Regions from separate parts of the Homo sapiens genome. Here region 2 is linked to region 1. The links are contacts of gene promoters, found by promoter capture Hi-C in blood cells and fetal thymus (Javierre and others, 2016). All regions are on one chromosome and are shown on one strand. Each heading gives the region's core, a stretch centred on a gene start or on the middle of the fragment in contact. The rest is flanking DNA. Distances are from core to core; before and after follow the strand shown. Region 1 holds the start of TMOD3 (tropomodulin 3). Region 2 has its middle 23 kb from the start of SCG3.

What was found. Contacts are between HindIII fragments. The CHiCAGO score rates a contact against its expected background, and 5 or more counts as called.
Region 2: a contact is called between a fragment that was not itself captured here and the fragment with the promoter of TMOD3 in region 1, in 2 of 17 cell types (neutrophils and M1 macrophages). The highest score is 5.7, in neutrophils.

The regions. Positions count from the first base shown.
Region 1 is chr15:51,828,229-51,830,928 of GRCh38, forward strand. It overlaps TMOD3 (tropomodulin 3), which reads left to right and starts at 1,425. Exons shown (of 10, transcript NM_014547.5): 1 at 1,425-1,608. RefSeq lists silencers at 1,330-1,484, 1,705-1,984. The HindIII fragment of the contact is 7,100 bases long and covers 1-2,700 here.
Region 2 is chr15:51,657,320-51,660,019 of GRCh38, forward strand. No RefSeq gene overlaps it. Among named protein-coding and RNA genes, the nearest start is that of SCG3, 23 kb to the right of the region's middle. The HindIII fragment of the contact is 9,807 bases long and covers 1-2,700 here.

The sequences.
Region 1 (2,700 bases), core at 175-2,674:
TGGTATAGAAAATAAAATGCAATGGCCACAAGATTGAGTGTTGACTGTCCTCTAAGTATTTGCAATTGAGAAGGGTTTTTTCCTGGCCAAGCACGGTGGCTCACGCCTGTAATCCCAGCACTTTGGGAGGCCAAGGTGGGCAGATCATGAGGTCAAGAGTTCAAGACCAGAATGGCCAACATGGTGAAAACCCATCTCTACTAGGACTACAAAAATTAGCTGGGTGTGGTGGCACGTGCCTGTAATCCCAGCTACTTGGGAGGCTGAGACAAGAGAATCACTTAAACCTGGGAGGCAGAGGTTGCAGTGAGCCGAGATCACACCACTGCACTTTAGCCTGGGCGGCAGAACAAGACTCTGTCTTGGAAAAAAAAAAAGAAGGGTTTTTTTCCCTTAAAAACCTAAACCATCAGTGATCTCCATTGCTGAAATTAGTGGGTGCCAGTTGCATGAAATTCCAGGATGTTTATCTAACCTAGGGTCCTCCCTCCTCTGAGGGGAAGAAGTAGATGCCAGGAGAGGTTTAAACCATGAAGTGGCTCGCACACTGGGTGTAGCTGGAATGTACCTCAAGCAGGCACGTCAGTCCACTTCTTTGGCTGCATTTTTGAAAGGTGTGTCAAAGTTTAGCATTATTCCTGGGGATGGTCTACTCCTGAAGAGCAGGCCAGGAAAATTCCCAGTAAGTGACTAAATGAATAAATGGAAAAATGTCGCAGTTCCCTCTCCTCAGAGCCTCGCACAAAAGGTAGCCATTACATAGGCCACTGTCAAACAGTCCTCTGAGAGATTCCCACACTCTTCCTCTTCCCTCTAGACTACCCATCTGCCCCAATCCCCCCCTTGAGCAGCCTATTCTGTTTTTTCTCCCACTACAGCAGCCAGCCCCACCGCCTGGTGTAGAGCTTGAAGATGGAAAGGGAAGATAGGATGGGCAGAAACTGCCCTGCAATAGCTACATCATCCCCGAAACGCATACCTAAGAAAACCACTAAGGTCACCACACCCTGGAGGTGACATTCGCATGATTTATGCCTCTCTTGGGCTTTAGATTTTATTCCTTTACTTTTCTATAACTCTGTCATGACCAGTTTAAAGGCCCCAATGTCATGTCCTCGCATTAACAACCAAGGCTACAATGCAAGCCCTGCCATGTGCGCTTCTTTACAAAAGGTCAAAGTAAAAAGGAAATCTATACCAAAGAGCCTCTAGATACTATTTCCAGCTTCGGGGAAGTCCATAGTAGGTACTTCCACGGGTAGAGAACATTATCTTAGACTGGGATAAGGGTTGGTATTCGCAGTCCCCTTCCTACGTTCTGCCCATTGTAAAGACCAGGGTCAGCGTTGAGCCTCGCCCTTCTTGCTAGAACTACAACTCCCAGGATGCCCCGCGGCACGGGAGTGCGCACGCGCGTCGGAGGCGAAGGAGGAACCCACCGCACCTACAGGGCGGTCGAGTGAGGGAGCTGCTGGCGGGTGGGTCTGGCAACTCTTTGGGAGGCCGACGCGGGCGGACCGGCGGGTGCTGGGAACCGAGCCTCGGCTTGCGGCCGGCAGTTTCCGTGGGTCTGTGAAGAGGTCGGCGGCCCCTGCGGGCGCCAGTCAGGTAAGCCCAGCCCGGTGCTTTCCAGGAAGTCCGTCTGCGGGCGCGGGTAGGGAGTCGCACCGGCCATGGTGGCTGAGGAGGGAGAGGTTGCTGCCCGCCGGCCGCCCGACTCCAGGCTCCTTCCCGACGGGTCCGTCTCGGGGAGCAGGGGTGCGCGGGGGCTGCTTCTGCGCGAACGGCCCGGGCGGGGGACGTGGGGCGCGCTGGGCGTCGCCCGCCGGTCTAGGCGCGCGAACCTGGCGTTCCCAGTGAATCACCCGCGGCCCGGGCGCCCGGGTTCGGGACCGGCCCCCTCCCCTCCCGCTGAGCCGCGGCCGAGCTGGCTCCCTGCACCCTACCCAGCGTCGCCGGGACGCGATCACACCGAGATGGCACCGAGCCTCCTTCAAAGGCTTCGGCTTGTTGAAAGTGGGGCGGCGGAGTGGGGGAGCCAAAACTTAGGGCACACCCTTTTTGTGATTGAAATGTGGCTGCCCTTGCATTCACCGGTTTGATCTGTCTGCTCTTAGAATTAAGTTCCTAGCTCCCAGGCAGCACAGCTGGATCCGGCTGGGAAGTTTGTGTGTTAGTTTGTTTTGAGGACGTGACTGTGTCGTTATATTTTTGCTTGCGGGGGATGGTGTGTTTCCTCCGCAAGCCTGCATTCTGATTACAAACAGAAATGGGAAACAGCCACAGTTTCTTTTTTTCTTTTTAATGTTTAGTTAAGAATCGCATTTCCAACTTGCCCTTGGCCTCTGTTAAAACCAAAAGTCATCTGGCAATGAACACTGCAGTAAAACTTACCCCAGGAGGCCATACTTCAACAGGAAATAAGCCTGTGGAGATTTAAGTTAGTTATGTGCAGCCTCCCTTGGTTTGTAACATTTTCATGCAGCTCATGTCTCCTCTCCTTTTCTGAGAAACCTTCAGATTAATTTTTTTGGCAGATTAAATTGATTAATTGGCCCGTCAAAAATATATTAGGCTTGGAAAAATAGCTTTGCCAAGTCTCATTTACTCTTGCTAGTTTCTTCTTCCTAGGCACCTTTTCACCTTTAAGAGTCAGCAATCATAATAGTTACAGTCCCCTTTCTTACACATTCCTACGAA
Region 2 (2,700 bases), core at 188-2,687, 170 kb before region 1:
CTTGTGAGAAGGCAAATAAAAAGGCCAGTTAGTAATACTTTTTTTTTTTTTTTTGACAGAGTCTCGCTCTATCACCCAGGCTGGAGTGCAGTGGTGCTATCTCGGCTCACTGCAAACTCTGCCTCCCGGGTTCACGCCATTCTCCTGCCTCAGCCTCCTGAGTAGCTGGAACTACAGGCGCCCACCACTGCACCCGGCTAATTTTTTTGTATTTTTAGTAGAGACAGGGTTTCACCATGTTAGCCAGGCTGGCCTCGATTTCCTGACCTCGTGATCCACCTGCCTCAGCCTCCCAAAGTGCTGGGATTACAGGCGTGAGCCACCGGGCCCGGCCAGTAATGCTTGTTAATGTAGAGCTCTCTGATGCCGTCTCCAGACCCATAAGGGTCTACAGTTGTTTTCAATGGTTAACTTTTGTTCTCTCTGGTAGAAAGTGTATGTGTGTGGAGCATGGGGTCATACCTCTTGTCTTTGTCAAGGTATGTTCTGCTTCTATGGAAATATAGGGATGATAGAAAGTTTTCCTGCACCTACTGTTTCTTAATTACCTTTAGCTCAACAATCCTTATGCCAGAGGCATATTTGTGGTGGTGTATTCTGGTCTCCCACACATGTTATTTATGAATAAATGGTTTTATTTATTTTCCCTTTTAATTGATATTTTAACCTAAATTGATTTGTATTTCATATCAAGAGAGTGGACAGTTTTTGATACAAACTCTTTGGAAAGAAATTTGGCAATATAAACAAGAAATCATAAAATTATTATACTCTTTGATTCAGTAAAGTCCCTCCTAGAAGTCTATGAAGGAAAGTGATTCTTTTCTTAAAAAGAAGTGTGATACACCCACTCAGTGAGCTATTTGTAGACATTAAAAATGAGATTATAAAAACATGACTGTTAAGATGCTTACAGATGAGTGTTGTACACCCAACTAAAAGTGGCTTAAAGTTTAAATAATGTCTCCACATAACAAAAAGACCAGAGAAATCTGGGTGGGGTGGCTCACCCCTCTAATCTCAGCACTTTGGGAGGCTGAGGCAGGCAGATCACTTAAGGCCAGGAGTTCGAAACCAGCCTGGGAAACATGGCAAAACCCCGTCTCTACAAAAAAATATAAAAATTAGCTGGGCATGGTGGCACGCATCTACAGTCCCAGCTACTCGGGAGGCTTAGGCATGAGAATCACTTGAGCGGGGAGGTGTAGGTTGCCGTGAGCTGAGATTGCACCACTGCACTCCAGCCTGGACAATAGAGGGAGACTGTCTCAAAAAAGTAAATAAATAAATAAAAATAAAGACCAGCGGTAAGGCAATTCCAAGACTTACTAAATAGTTTGGTTTTGTTTTTTTTAGAAAAACAGGTGATATGTATATATGAAGCAAGAGAATAAGGTCTGGAGACAGGGAACCTTCACTTCAGCCTCTGATTGGTCGCAGGCCAAGTCTTCATTTTCACAGGGCATAACTCCACTTCAGCCTCTGATTGCTTGTGGGCCATGTCTTCATTTACATAGGGTGTAACCAATAGGAAACCTCTAAAGAGTAATGAAACCCCAGAAGATTTTGCAACAGGTGCTCTTGAGCTTCTTGCTTAAGCCACTCCCACTCTGTGGAGTGTACTTTCCTTTCAATACATCTGTGCTTTCATTGCTTCTTTCGTTCATCTGGTTTTTTGTTGCTTTGTTTGTGTGTTTTGTCCAATTCCTTGTTCAAAACACCAAGAACCTAGATGACTCGTCAAGACCCTCCACCAGTAACATATACATTAATATTTAAGAAACACTGAAACTTAAGAAACTTCCTCTTAAGTCACATTGACCTGGGTTGCTATCAGAAATGAATTAGTTGTTCTCAATCCTGGCAGCTCATCCAAATAACCTGGGGAAATCTTTGCCAAATACAAGGGCAAGATTTTTTCTTATGTTTTCTTCTGGATTTTTTATAGTTTTAGCTTTTACATTTAGGCCTATTATTCATTTTGAGTTAGTTTTAGCATATGGTGTGAGGTTGGAGGATTTTTTTTGGCCTATGGCTACCTTAAATATAACTCAAAAGTCACAAACTATAAAAGACAAAAATCAGTAAACTAGACTATCAAAATTAAAATCTGTTTTTCAAGAGAAAAGAAAATGAAAAAGCAAGCCACAGGCTGGGAAAAAATATTGAGAAAGCAATCAAACAAACCAGAATGGGGTTTTTAAGGAGAAGGTAACTTTACAAGACAATTGACCTGGTGTCTTTAAAAAAATTATTAGAAAATAATAATTGTGCATATTCATGGGGTATATAGTGATGTTTTGATAAAAATAATTCATAGCAATCAGATTACGGTAATTAGCATATCCATCATCTCAAATATTTATCCTTTCTTTATGTTGGAAACATTCAATATCCTCCTTCTTGGCCTGGTTTCTTTACAAGTCAATGGCATGAGAGAAAGAAGCGGGGAAGGGAAGACTGTTCTAGAGTACAAGAATTTAAGAGATACAATAATCAAATGGTTTGAGCAAACCAACTAAAAATAACATTATTGGGAATAATTGGGAAAATTTCAGTATGTAGTGGGCATTGGGTCAGTGTTTCTCCACCTGTGGTGAAGGAACAGTTTTTCCCCAATCCATTGCAGAAAGTTACAGTTGTGAAATAAAATAAAAATTAATTAGTAGAAAAATGAAGTAAATAAAAGATGCACAACAA